Regions from separate parts of the Homo sapiens genome. Here region 2 is linked to region 1. The links are contacts of gene promoters, found by promoter capture Hi-C in blood cells and fetal thymus (Javierre and others, 2016). All regions are on one chromosome and are shown on one strand. Each heading gives the region's core, a stretch centred on a gene start or on the middle of the fragment in contact. The rest is flanking DNA. Distances are from core to core; before and after follow the strand shown. Region 1 holds the start of DDX41 (DEAD-box helicase 41). Region 2 holds the start of RNF44 (ring finger protein 44).

What was found. Contacts are between HindIII fragments. The CHiCAGO score rates a contact against its expected background, and 5 or more counts as called.
Region 2: the fragment with the promoter of RNF44 here is called in contact with the fragment with the promoter of DDX41 in region 1 in 1 of 17 cell types (fetal thymus); the score reaches 5.5 in fetal thymus.

What each region holds. Positions count from the first base shown.
Region 1 is chr5:177,515,130-177,519,269 of GRCh38, forward strand. It overlaps DDX41 (DEAD-box helicase 41), which reads right to left and starts at 1,832. Exons shown (of 17, transcript NM_016222.4): 1 at 1,790-1,832; 2 at 1,596-1,706; 3 at 1,159-1,318; 4 at 990-1,064; 5 at 800-860; 6 at 556-692; 7 at 57-129. The coding sequence starts at 1,816. RefSeq lists enhancers at 1,074-1,898, 1,927-2,196. The HindIII fragment of the contact is 2,611 bases long and covers 362-2,972 here.
Region 2 is chr5:176,535,711-176,539,850 of GRCh38, forward strand. It overlaps RNF44 (ring finger protein 44), which reads right to left and starts at 1,692. Exons shown (of 11, transcript NM_014901.5): 1 at 1,230-1,692. It overlaps LOC124901143 (a long non-coding RNA gene), which reads left to right and starts at 2,219. Exons shown (of 2, transcript XR_007059071.1): 1 at 2,219-2,413; 2 at 3,348-3,587. RefSeq lists silencers at 1,186-1,375, 1,456-1,715 and enhancers at 1,826-2,265, 2,506-2,685. The HindIII fragment of the contact is 3,937 bases long and covers 746-4,140 here.

The DNA.
Region 1 (4,140 bases), core at 582-3,081:
TGCTCCTCCCTGTTCCAGCCCTCCTCAAGGACCCCAGGTCCACAGTCCACACTCACATGGTGGGGATGCCCTGGATCTGAATGGGTGTTGGGTGGTGAATGCCTTTCTTCTTCAGGCCTCTCAGGATGGCTATGAAAACCAACCGACATCGTCTTCATGACTCACAGGTACTTTCTCAGAGCCCCAAAGCCTGTAAAACTGGCACTACCCCTACAAGTTGCAGATGATGAAACTGAGGCTCAGAGAGAGAGAGAGAGAGTGGAAAAAAAAAAAGAAAAAAAGAGACTTGTCCAAGGCCCACAGGCTAGGTGCAGCCAGGATTTGTACCCAGTGTCTATGCCCAATGGCACTTTCCTCCTGAAGCTTTGTAACAGCAGAGAACAATGAACACGTACAGCTGAGGCAACAAGGAACCTAAAGAAACTCCTCCTCAAATCCCTCCAGCCCCAGTGACTGGATCCAATGCAGATGTGGCTGAGCTCAGTGGGAGCCAGGACATAACCTCACAGGCATTTGATTATAAAAGTGTGGTATCTCTCTCCAGCCCCTGACTACCTGCAGGAAACTTCATTTCCTTGAAGCTCTTGATGGGTGGTGGGATACCGTCTCCCTCCACCAGGATGTGGTATTTCTTCCGCACGCGCTCATGTCGCTCTTCAGACATGCTCAGAACATAACGGGGTGGAGTCCAGCTGTGGATGGGTAACAGGGATCAAGAGAGCCCTGGGAATAGCTGGCCTGGGAGCATCCCTGCATGTACCATCCTAAGCAAGGGCAACTGCAGACTGTACAGACATACCTGGTTTTGATGGGGTCATCATACGTAATGCCCTTAGCCATCTCCTTCACTGACATCAATGCTGAAGAGAGAGACATGGCTCAGGGCTGGCTCCTGCTTCTGAGAAGCCAGATCCCTTGAGATATAACATGCCTGGGGCTGGGAGGAGAAGACTCAGTCCACCTTCTCACTATCCTGGCTACAACCATACCTCGGCCCTCGGCAACACTCTCCAGGATCTTCTCTTCTTCCTTCAGCTGCTTCTCCTTGGCAGACTCTTTGCGCGCTGAGAAAAGAAGTGGAAGATGTCAGACAGATACCAAAACGGTGTACCAGGCTCAGCTTCTTCTTTCTCGCCCAGGCAGTGCTGCCCAGCCCACCTTCAGCCTTCTCTTTAAGGTGCTGGTGCTGATCCAGGAGGCTGACGTTGGACTGAGGGCCTAGCGGGATGTCGTCCTCATCTCCCCGGGGTTCACTACCGCTGTCCTGCTGCTCTTCCTCCGCAGCTCCCTTGCGTCTTCGCTGCAGCAGCTTCTGGAGCTGAGGTTCCACCCGGGATCCACAGATAGGATGGGCATGGAGTCCACAAGGTCAGCGTCAGGATCCTGGCTTTGGGGCGAGGATCCTGTGCCCGAGGCGCAAAGCTGCCCTACCCCTCAGATCAAGCCGTCGGTCCCTCGTTTGTCTGGGGGCCGCGCCCTGGTGTACTGAAGCTCACTCCTCAGACTGCCCTCCTCCCCACGGAGGCCGAGGCCACGCCCGCCCCCTGCGACCCCGCGGTCACGGCCCCATCCCTCCCCGGACGCGTGCCCCTCACCAGTAGCTGCCGGCGCTGCCGTAACGGCACATAGGGCACGTAGTCCTCGTCGTCCTCATCTTCCGCCTCGGAGCGGCTTCCTCCGGCAGGCACCTCGTCGGTGCGAGCCCGCTGCAAGCACACGCCAGTCAGGCACGGCCTGCTCCCCTCTTCACGCCCGCTCCCACACGCGCGGGGTCTCGCCTCTCTCCTACCTTCCGTTCGGGTTCCGACTCCTCCATTCTTTGCTGCACGCATGCGCGCCACGGCGAAACCCCGCCTCATCCTTGCGTGAGACCCAATCCGATGTGAAGAGGCGAACGACGGCGCGTAGGAACGACCTCGGAGTTCCGGATCGCGCAGAGGGACAAATTTGTTCCGGAGATACTATCGCACGGCGAGGCATGGACGCTTTCATGGGTGGTTACGCGACAGTTGCCAGGACCGAGGGCGAAACCGGCTGCAAGGCATTGTGGGACATTGGAGGACTTGGAATATGCGCTAGAAGGCTCAATCCAAGCCCATTGGAAGAGGAAGACGTACGCAGCGGAGACAGCTGATCCGGAGTCGGGGCGGCCTGCCAGGTGCCCAACCTCTCCCAGAGCATGGCGTCTTGGGCACGCCCCTGCCGGCGGACAGTGCGTCCTCTAGGGCCGGGAGCTGCGGGCCGAGTTCGCGTGGGCCCTGCGCTTTCATCCCTGCCGGGGACGCCGGGGTTGCGGGATAAACCGCTCGACACACCCTGCCTCCCTGACTGCGCCTGTGTGACACATACGTTCACTGGTGGGGCACGCATCAGATACGGATGGCAGTGGTTTTGAAGTGGGAGGCCCTGTATAAATGTAAACGGTTATTACTGTAAATGCTCTAACAGAGCTGCCTGGGGGGCGCTTCCAGGGAAGCGTGGCAATCTCAGGCCGGGAGAGGAGAGGCGTCCTGGGCCAGGGCGCTGCAGGAATACAGGTCTGGCGATGTGCAAGTACACAGATTCACCAGGCAACAGCATTGCGGCAAGGGTGGGATGGGGAAGCCAGACCTAAGGCCAGAAAAGGAGATTGCGACCAGAGCATGCCTGCTGTGACTGTCAGAGTAAGTGGTTTCAACTTTATTAGAGACTTCTAAGGAATGACTTGGTCAGCTCTGTGCTTTCTTGCCTTCAAGAGTGTGTGCTGGGCGCTGGCACTGCGCTCAAGCAGATGATAATCAAGACACATACCTGGTGTGCGAGGAGCTTATGTAGATTGAGACTAGAAATATAGACAGATAACTGGTCTTAAAGAGAAAGATCCTAAGACAAGGTACCGCTTTTCGAAGTGTCATAGTTTTCACAGTACAATGGCCTCTTAGCTGGGATGTGAAGGATACACAGGAATTCATGAAGTCTTCTTTAGTAAAGAAAGCTTAGGCTGGGCACAGTGGCTCATTCCTGTAATCCCAGCTCTCTGGGAGGCCAAGGCAGGAGGATCGCTTGAAGCCAGGAGTTCAAGACCAGCTTGGACAACATAGCAAGACCCCATCTCTATAAAAAAAATAAGCTGGTGCTTACTGCCAGTCCCATGGTGGGTCTCAACCTGGGAGGGATGGAGGAGGACATGGTTTCTGGTCCTGCTCACAACACCCAAATACATGGCAATCTCAGGCCGGGAGAGGAGAGGCGTCCTGGGCCAGGGCGCTGCAGGAATACAGGTCTGGCGATGTGCAAGTACACAGATTCACTAGGCAACAGCATTGCGGCAAGGGTGGGATGGGGAAGCCAGACCTAAGGCCAGAAAAGGAGATTGCGACCAGAGCATGCCTGCTGTGACTGTCAGAGTAAGTGGTTTCAACTTTATTAGAGACTTCTAAGGAATGACTTGGTCAGCTCTGTGCTTTCTTGCCTTCAAGAGTGTGTGCTGGGCGCTGGCACTGCGCTCAAGCAGATGATAATCAAGACACATACCTGGTGTGCGAGGAGCTTATGTAGATTGAGACTAGAAATATAGACAGATAACTGGTCTTAAAGAGAAAGATCCTAAGACAAGGTACCGCTTTTCGAAGTGTCATAGTTTTCACAGTACAATGGCCTCTTAGCTGGGATGTGAAGGATACACAGGAATTCATGAAGTCTTCTTTAGTAAAGAAAGCTTAGGCTGGGCACAGTGGCTCATTCCTGTAATCCCAGCTCTCTGGGAGGCCAAGGCAGGAGGATCGCTTGAAGCCAGGAGTTCAAGACCAGCTTGGACAACATAGCAAGACCCCATCTCTATAAAAAAAATAAGCTGGTGCTTACTGCCAGTCCCATGGTGGGTCTCAACCTGGGAGGGATGGAGGACATGGTTTCTGGTCCTGCTCACAACACCCAAATACATGGCTCTTAGTGACCCTGTTAGCTCCCCACATAACCTCGAGTTGGTTTTAGGAGCGAAAACTAAATTTGGGGCATGGAGTTTGGACACAAGTGTGTCAGGGGCATTTTGGGAAAACTCATTGTATTAAAATCCAAATTTACAAACCAGATCCATTTCGGGGGATGAGGTAGTTTGCTTGACTTTACAGAAGAGTTCATTATCCTCTTAACTCTCAAGCC
Region 2 (4,140 bases), core at 442-2,941, 980 kb before region 1:
TTTAGCTCTGTAGTACAGAGAAGCAAGCAAGGCCCAGAGTTGGAGCTAGCAACTTGCTCAAGGTCAAATAGCAAGGGTGGCCAGGTGGCCTCCCCTAACAACTGCTCTGCCCGTCCACATCTCCATGCTGTCCTATCACGGAGCTCTGTGTGAACGGGTCTTGAGAGTCCCGTCGCTGAGCCCCGTCCGCCCCAGGCACGCAATGCATTTTGCAGTTAACATAACCCCCCACACCCACCCATGAGAGCCGGCCAACCCCTTAAGTCCAGTGCCCCAAGCACCTACCCTGACCTTGGTCTAAGAGCCCCAGGGATCTGTTTGCAGGAAGAGACACTCCCTTTTGCAGATAAAAACAAAGTCAGACCCTGGGGGCATGAGCAGACTCAGCCAGGAAGAGAAGCCCCCCTTCCTACTTCCCCACACCCCACCCGAAACAAGCAGGCTCTGCCCAGCGCAAGCAGAGCTTCCCAACGTGTGGTGCCTGGAGGCCGCTGAGGGCCGGACCACCAGACTAGGAGAGAAGACTCCCTAGTGACCTTGGTCAAGGAAATCCCTTTGCTTCTGAGCGCCTCAGTTGGCACAGCTATAAAATGGGGGTGGAAATCTTTCCTTCCCACAGCGCCCAAATAAAACCAGAAGAGTCCAGAAGAAACCAGGTGGTCACACTAGTGGGGGAGGAAACCAGGGTCCTGGGGAAGGGGGGGCTCCCCAACGCGGGCCAAGTGCACGCTGTGGGGCTCTGGGAAGCTTACCCAGCCACCCCTCCCCAGGCATAGTGCTGGGGGGCCGAGGCGCGGACACAGCCCCGAGAGGGGCCTCCCTCGTCCGCTTCCTACTCTTTTGCGCCGCTCTCGGAGGGACACCGGGGGCGGGAGGCGAGACTGCAGCGCAGGGGCCAGAACGCTGCGACTTTAAGAGCCGAGGATCCCGGACCATGTGCTCGGCGTGAGACAAAAGCAACAACAAAGGAAGTGGCGGCCGCAGGGGGAGGGGGGCGGCTCCTTCCTCTCCAACCGCAGCGCTCAGCTGCAGGAGAGGGGAGATACGGCCCGGCCACGGGGGGCCTTGGGGGGGGTTCCTGATCCCTGGGGTCTCGCTGCCCGCAGTCTGGACCGCCCGTGATTAACCCCTACGGAGCCACCTAGATCACGGCCCCCATTCCCAGGGGAGGGGAACAGAAGGTCCATGGGTGGGGGAATAGGAAGTTGGGGGCCCTGGCACCGACTCACCTTTGGCCGCCCGGCCACACGTTGACTCCTTTGTTCCCGATCTAGGACGGCCAAACTGGGCAGGGGGCGGGGGAGGGGGGGGGTGCCTGTCTGGATCCTTTAAGAGCTCCCGCCCTGCGGAACAATGTGCTCCCCTCCCCACCCCCGGGTCCGGGGGCAGCCCGGCTCCTTCCGGGGCCTCTCTCTTTGTTGTCCGCCCGACGGCGTCTGCCTCGCGAGGCCCACGCGCGATCAGTCTCTCTCGGCCCAGGCCCTCAGGGAGCGGGAGGCGGCGCAGGACGCAGCTGGGTCTGCGCGGCAGCCGGCGGCTGGCCCTTTAAGAACTGTCCGCGGCGGCAGCGGAATGTAACAAACCCCACATTTGATTCACAACATTCGAAGCGGCGGGGTCGCGCGCCAGACGGGAGGGGGCTCGCGGGGGCGCGCCGGGAGGCTCCGGCAAACAGTAGCCCGCTGCAAGCCCGCAGGGGCCCCGCCCCGCGCCGGGAGCTCCGCCCTGAGAGCCAATCACTCGCCGCGACCACGCACGTGACTAGTGGGCCACCATCTTGAATTTTTTTAACCTCCTCCTCGCCCCCACCTTCGCACTTAAAGGGACCGCAGCCATAGTCAAAAGCAAGGGGCGGGGCCGCATATCCTGACATAAAGATGGGGAGACCCCAGGGTGGGCAAAACCGATCGGCTGCAACTCGAACTTGCTATGCAAACTCGCTAACTACTCGCGCCTCTGAGGCTCAGTTTCCCTGCCGAAGAAATGGGTCCCGCCAGGAGAACCGGCAGTACGGACTTACTGTGTCATGGTCCCCTCCTCGGGGACAGGGTGCCGCCTGAGATACTGAAGTGCAATGGGTCTGACCTCTGACGGGGCGAGAGCGGCCCAAGTGGTTATGCTGGCTCTAACAACCCTGGGCCGGCCACCTTCCCGGAGATGACGTCACCCCCAAGAGCTGCAGCACCGCGCTGACATCATGGCCCGGCCGCCCCACTTCTCCTTGTTTATACTACACGGCGTCTTTAAAAAGCTGGTACGGCCCAGATTGCCCAACAGACCAATGGCGGACCACCCATGCAAACGAGCTAACGTCTGCCGGGCAAGGAGATTGGCCCTGCTCGCGCTGACGTCACAGAGACATTTAACCGCCACGCCCCCAGCGTGGCGGTGGAGGAAGAGAGGCGGGGAACAGGTTGTAGTTTAAAGCAAAAGTGCAGGCGCTGGGCGCTCTAGCTGCTAGGCTGGGCTTGAGAGTTTGGTGTCCCCGCGGAGACCTCCCTAGCCAGGGAAACTGGGAACTAAGCCCAGTGAAGCGTCTATACTTTAGTTTTCTATTCCTCTCAGCAGCTATGAGACGGAGGGATTACTATAGCCAGTTCATTTTACAGATGGGGAAAGTGAGGGCCTTCCCTTACTCCAGATCACACAACTAGAAGTGTGGCGGAGCAGGAGTGTGAACCTAATCCAAAGCCGAGCCTCGTTCTCCTTTGCCTCGAAGCCCACCCACCCGGGCAAAATTTATACAAAATGGGGTATTACCTCCACCACAATTATATAAGCAGAAAATCAGTAATTTGCTAAATATCCAAGAGCTGGAACAGGTCGAATAATGAATATTGGGTGCATGCATATAATCAATAACGACTCTTGGGCAGTTACCACAAAGAGGCAGCTGGAGGCGACACGGGGCTATCTCCAAGACAGCCATAAACAAGGCGCCAATGCAAAATGTTAACATCTGTTAACCTGTGTGGTGGGCCATGGGGCAGGGGGATGGGGGGCTCATTTTCTATGCTGCTTTGGTATATTTCGTAATCCTAAATTTTATATAAAAATTGAAACCAAGATGCTGAACAGTTCTAACAGTATGTATCAGGTTTCTTTAATTGGACATATGCCACATCTGCATATATTTCTGGAAGGGTATACAGGAAACTGATTAACAATTGTCCTTAGGGAGAACTGGAAGGGAGAAGTTGGGTCAGTAGGATAGACTATTGTATATATTGCACATTAGCTCTTTTTTAAAAACCCTATGCATTATAACCCACTGAAATTTTTAAAGAAAGCTATTATAAAGACTATGTCTTAAGTCTTTTAAGCCAGAAAACCTTTTGTTCCCTTAGAATCAGAAACCCCCTTTCAGCTTGGGGAACAGACATGTTTATGGCAATGTTTAGACCAGCAATGATCGTATCACTGTGCAACACAATGACTGAAGATGGAACTGAGCCGGCTGTCGGCAGATCTCTAAGCAACACAAGAGCAAGGTCATGATGCAGTGCTATCGATGCTCCCTGGAACGCCAAACTCTATCCATCACAGTTAAAAATTACATGTGCATGAGAATAAGTGTGGCTATACAAGGTTATGTCTTTACCCAGTTCCTTATCATCAACTGTTCCTTTACCTCCAATGTCTCCTTCAACCTTTTGTTTTCCCCACCACATAAAAGCAATTTGAAAACCCTCCCCATGGCCGGGCACGGTGGCTCACGCCTGTAATCCCAGCACTTTGGGAGATCCAGGCGGGCAGATCACAAGGTCAGGAGTTTGAGACCAGCCTGACCAACATGGTGAAACCCTGTCTCCACAAAAAATACAAAAATTAGCTGGGCATGGTGGCATGCACTTGTAGTCCCAGCCACTTAGGAGGCTGAGGCAGGAGAATCGCTTGAACATGGGAAGTGGAGGTTGCAGTGAGCTGAGATTGCGCCACTGCACTCCAGCCTGGGTGACAGAGCGAGACTCCGTCTTAAAAAAAAAAAAACCCTCCCCACATTTGAAGGTACCTACATATTTGTTAGATTACTGCCTGCCTGTCCTTATGGATAGGGCCTACAGTGGCTCCCTACTGCCAACTGCATGGAAGCCTGGTTTTGGGGCTGCACTTAACAAGCTCTTCCTGCCCGAACTTTTC